Linked DNA regions of Homo sapiens: region 1 is linked to region 2. The links are contacts of gene promoters, found by promoter capture Hi-C in human tissues and cell types (Jung and others, 2019). All regions are on one chromosome and are shown on one strand. The core of a region is centred on a gene start or on the middle of the fragment in contact, and the rest is flanking DNA. Distances in the headings are between cores, read along the strand shown.

Region 1 (2,700 bases), core at 85-2,584, 140 kb after region 2:
CATTGAAATTTAAAAGGATGATTCAAACCCACTCATGGATGGGGGTGTTATTGTAAAAGTTAATTCACAGGGTATTTTATAAAAATGACAACATTTTTATAATGAAGCGTGGCTTCTCCAGGACCACTTAGCAGGTGAGGCTGTGACGACAGCCCCGTAGCCTGAGTCCTCGTCCTCACTGAGGACTGTGGGCGCAGCCTCAGTCCACGCATGTTTTTGTAGCTACCGGGCTGAAGACGTGGCTAGGAAGTTCCATTGAGTCACACATTCTGCTCACTCATTGGTGCTTTTCGCAGGAGCTTGAGTGCACTCTCCAGAAAGTGCAAACTTCCTGTTCATCCTCCGTGGTGACCTAGCTTGTATCACAACTCTAGGCAGCTCCGACTCCGTGTTGCAGGCCAAGATCACAGGGAATCAGCCCATAAGGAGAGTGAGTGCAGTGGGTCTGGGCTCCTCAGGGTTTTCTGACAGTGCCCGTCTTTTAGAAAGCTAGGCGTGGTTTCCTAGACATTCAGCTTCCAACCTGCAGCCCGGAGGGGTGCATTCCAGCCAAGCGAATTCCTTCCTGCTCCGCACAGTCCTGCAAGCTGACCAGGAGAACCATGCAGACTCCAGACAAAATGCAGCCGTTGCATCGGGGGCAGGAAGGGTCCTCAGTGATCTGACAGTCCAAATCAATCAATCAATCAATCGTTCTCCTTCCCTTGTCTCTCCATCCTCTCTCTCTTCCTCAATAATGTGCTCTCTGGCTTTTGCTTTCTCTCTCTCTCCCTCTCTCATGCTCTCTCTTTCTCCCCCATTTTAACTGTGGAGGCCCAAACATGCATTTCAGTTTGCCTGAGGCCCAAGGCCTTGCCAGTGCTCTTCTACTCTCCAGTAGCTTTGGAGTAAAGAAGTAGAATTCTCACAGATTCCATGGGGGTCCTCGGAGGGTTCCCTAGCCCTCCTGCCCCGTCTACCCGGCACCCTGGCTCCTTGCCTCCGCTCAGTGTTCTGCGGGACCAGGCAGCCCAGGACAGGAGGACAGCTCTGTCTCCAGTTCCCATCCCGCCTGGCCTCCTCATAGCCTGGCTGAGTCGGCTTCCTCCTTCATCAAATGAAGCTGATAGCTCCTCAGGATTTGGAAGGAGGCGTAAGCTGGCAGTTTGAAAATGGGACCCACATCTGTCTGTGCTCCCCACAGTAGGGGCAAGGGGTGAGTCGGCCCAGGTTATGGCCTCCCTATAGTGTGCAGAGTTGGTGAGCCTCCCTGACCCATCTGCAAACATCGCCCAGGCACCACCAGGAAGAGCGGGCAGATGCCACGTGCAGGCCCAGGGCAGATAGCAGCCTGGGGAAATGCTTTAAAACACAGTTAACAATTAGAACGCCAGTCATAAGAAGCCCGTTTTTGAGAGGGCTGACGACAGGGTGCTGATGGGCGTGGCAGAGTCTTAAGCACTGTGAATTCAGAGAACAGGGATATTGCAAGAAGGCCAGGTGGCCCAGGCAGGCGCGCAGAAAGAGGATGGATGGAGATGCCCTGTGGTGAACATTCGTCTCCTGAATGTCTTATGTTCTGTGCATATTTTTCCTCTAAACAGACATAATTGTAACCACTCACACAGAAGCAGAAATGAACCAGGAAGCCCACTAAGGCAGAGCGTGGCCTGTCATTTGAGGGGGTGTGATTGATTAGATGACGGGGGCAGACTTCAAGTGCGTTGGAAGACAGAGGAGCTGTTTCCCTCTCTCTCAAGTGATTAAAAAGTAGACAATGTAGAATTTGACTTCCGGGGTCTTTAGAACTAACTTCTAGCATGCTTACAATAAAAATATTTTAACAAAAATAAAAATAACAGGATAAAGTTGCTCTTTATCCTTTCTATCCTAAAATATCCTATCCTCTTCTATCCTAAAATGAAAGGATAAAGAATTAAAGTTAAGCTAAAGTAAAAAATATGTCAGGAATTCTAAATTATAAGAATTTGTGAAAGATTTAATTATAATATTAGGGAAAATGTCCCAACCTACTTTAGCAAATCATACGTTATCATTGAAGAAAACAGAGCGTATCATTACTGATCAAATTCAGGAATATAAGCGGGCACCCCAGCAAAGTTTTCTCTCTACATCCTCTTGCTCCAGCTTGTAGAATAATTAAAGCCTGTCTTGGTCCATTTTGTGTTGCTGTAACAGAACTGGGTAATTGAAAAAGAAAAAAGGCTTATTTGGCTCATGATATGCATGGCTGGAAAGTTAGACAGGCAGTGGCATCTGATAAGGCCTTTATGCTGCTTCTACCCACGGTAGAAAGCAGAAGGGGACCGGGCGTGTGTAAAGAGACACATGGTGAGAGAAGAAGCAAGAGACAGAAGCCGAGGAAGCCATTCTTTTAATCACCTGCTCTCTCGGGAACTAGGCCATTCCGCCAGAGCGAGAACTCACTTAGCTCTGAGGGACTGTGTTGGTCTATTCATGAGGGTTCTGCCCCCATGACCCAGAAACCTCCAGGACCCACCTCCCAACACCACCACATTGGGGATCAAATTTCAAATTTTGGCAGAGGTTTTGGTGGAGACAAACCACACGCAAACCATAGCAGAGCCCTCTTATGACAGAATCCGAGGTTCTGTACAGTTACTGGATCCTAAACGTTAAATACATAAAGCCTGATGGAAAACGGGAGCGCATCTGGAATGGATTTAATGCCGTCCCACC
Region 2 (2,810 bases), core at 235-2,734:
GAACCGACCACAGCTTATTTCAACCATCTTTATTTTCAATACAATAAACACCTTTAGGACAAGTCCCCGGCCACTTAAAAAAGACGGCTGTCCACCAGAGGCGTTCTCACTACCTTCGTGTTTTCTCAAACACTTGTTCAAAAACACATTTAAGTGGAATGTTTTCGTTTCTGGCGATTGCATTAATGATGGGTTTGCAAACCCTGCAAGCCCAGGAGGACGGCTGGAGCTGGGGGCTGCAGACACCCGGCCTTGGCCCAGCGGCCGCCGCGGGTTGGCTTGGCCGGCGGGGGCTTGGCTCAGCCCCCTCTACATAGCTCCTCGTTTGACACCGCGTGCGTTGGCCGGGCCAAGGCTGTCGCATAGAAGTTACAGCTCAGAAAGAAAAACACACAGCGGTCAACCGCGGTGACCCTCGCGCTCAGGAGCGCAGCATCCCTGCCACGAGGAAGAACCCAGAGGCCCCGCAGAGCGGGGAGCCGCCGCCTGCCTCCAGTTCTGTCCTGAGAAGGGAAGAAAGCGCTTCTCTAATAACACTCAGGCCCGTGAAGAATCATCTGTAACCTCATCTGCTTCTTCCTCGGCTCACTTACGAGGGTCTCTGGGAGAGTCAGACCCACGAGTGGGGCCCACGACTGGCAGCCCCTTCAGCCGGCGAGAGGCCCGGGATCCGCGCGGCGCACGAGCCCAAAGCGGTCGGGAGAACACGCTCCAGGCCGGGTCCCCGTGGGCGAGGTGGGCGCCCAGTCCCGGCGGGTCTGTCTTGGCCTTGGGACAGTCCGCGGGGCGGCGCCGGCGCTCCCAGACCTGGTTCCCCACAGGCTCAGGCCCAGCAGTGAGTGCGGGACACCCGAGCGCACCCGCAGCTCCCACTTGTCCGGGGTCTGCAGGACCCCAGGATCCTCTCACAGCCGGGTCAGAGCCCCCGAGGCAGGTGGGGTCCCAGCCGGGTGGAACCCGAGGAGCCCGTCGCAGCCGCAGCAGGACCCCGGCGGGCAGGGTCCCCAGAAGCCCATCCCAGCCGGGTCCCAGGCGCGCACGCTGCGTCCTACCTGCTCCAGCCTCGCCGGCAGGCGAAGGCTCCACGGCCCCCGGGGCCACCTGCTCCCCGTGCCCAGGCGCCTGGGCCTGGAGCGGGGCGCGGGGACCCGAACCCGGCCGGCTGCAAGAGGCGGCACCACTTGAGCTCCAGGTCCCGCGGGCCCGGGCTTACCGTGAGCGCCGAGAACTTCTGAGCGGGCACCGGCGGGAGCAGCCCAGCGAGCAGCGGCAGCCAGCAGAGCTGGGGGAGCAGCATGGTGGCGGAGGTGGCGGGAGCGGGAGATCGGCCGCGTCCTGCGCCCTGGCACTGCAGCCGGGAGAGCCCAGTGGGCGAGCGCGGCTGGGCGGGCGCGTGGAGGGGCGGCTCCGCGATGCTCTCCCCACCGCTCCCGGCGGCCCGGCTGGAGCAGCTCCCCTGCAGGCACCCAGAGGTCCTCCGCGTTCTTTGCGTCCGCCCTCGCTCCTGTCAAATACCCCGGAGCTTCCCGGATCCTCCCCTCCCGCCCGCCTCTCTCCCTCCCCCTCTCCTCCCCCAGCCCCACCTCCCAGCGCCCGCTGCCGCGCCCGCTCCGCTCCGGTGCCCGCTGCGGCCCAGAGGCCTCCCTGGCGCGGGTCTGCGGAGCGAGAGGTGGAGCGGGGGCCACCAGGGCTGCGCAGTGGCCTGTCCGGGCTGTCTCTGTGCCTCCTTCCCCGCGCGCACTCTCACACACACACGTGCACACTTACACACACGCACACCCAGGCACACGCACGCACTCATACCCACGCGCGCGCACCCTCGGGGGGCTTCCAAGCACAACCACGGGACGCACCGCGCCCTCCTCACGCCCCAGGGTCCAGGCCCGGTCCGCGCAGGATCAGCCCAGCGGGACTTTTCATCCACAAAGGTTAACGCCAAGCCTTGGCCGGTCCCCAGACTCCGGGGTTCTCCTTGACCTCTGCCCTCTAAGGCCCCCTGGTCCAGCCCAGAACATTGCCTCTCAGAGGTGCTGAAGGATCAGCGGCGCTCCAGCAAAGGCAGCTGGGAACACATGTCCAGGAAAGGCTGCGCCGGGGGCAGCCCGCCTTTGGCATCTTTACACGGGGTTATCCACTGCAGGGATGGGGGAATTTAGGTCCTAAAGATCCGGGGTCTGACCTGGGCTGTAGCCTTGATCCTCTCAAGTCGGGGGAGCATGTGGTTGGGCATCATTCACAGACACATGTGGCTGTTTTTAAACAGCTCTGTCAAAGCATTTCAGGTGTTTGTGCGGGGAGCACAGGGCTTGTGGAGGTTGTAAACTCACCCACGAAGACTACGTTGGAAACCAGGAAATTTTTGCACACCCAGACTCTGGATAATATCCACTGCAGACAACATTGCTGACATAGTTTAGCCTTGGCTTATAACTTTACAGGAAAAAGCCCTAATTCTGTCTCACACAGAAAGCCAGAAGAGTGAAGATTTGTTCAAGAACAATGAATCAATTGACTTGTCAGGGGCATTGGGAAAAGCACAAAACACAGAAAATCCAAATCTGAGGTTTCATCCGATGTCTAGCCCACTGCTTTGGCTATGAACTTTGGGGGAGGGGGCTGTATCAGCAAGTTCTGGGACTGGCTGCTGAGGCAAAGGCAATGCTATTGCAACCTTTCCCACACAATTTTATCAGGAAAGTGATGTCCGTCGGGCCACGGAAAGACGGGAAAGAAATGCACCTTTTCCTGAAGGAGGGCTACTCTCAGAATTCTCCTTAAAATTCCAAAGCCCAGGGAATCTATTAAGCACT

Evidence for each region. The method cuts DNA at HindIII sites, captures the fragments that hold promoters and counts their contacts. A contact is called where the count stands out against the background at its distance.
Region 1: a contact is called between a fragment that was not itself captured here and the fragment with the promoter of SMOC2 in region 2, in 2 of the 25 tissues and cell types used here (bladder and spleen).

What each region holds. Positions count from the first base shown.
Region 1 is chr6:168,303,134-168,305,833 of GRCh38, reverse strand. It overlaps a transcript of DACT2 not described here. Among named protein-coding and RNA genes, the nearest start is that of DACT2, 15 kb to the left of the region's middle. The HindIII fragment of the contact is 6,763 bases long and covers 1-2,700 here.
Region 2 is chr6:168,439,858-168,442,667 of GRCh38, reverse strand. SMOC2 (SPARC related modular calcium binding 2) reads right to left here and starts at 1,484. Exons shown (of 13, transcript NM_001166412.2): 1 at 1,214-1,484. The coding sequence starts at 1,297. The HindIII fragment of the contact is 15,076 bases long and covers 1-2,810 here.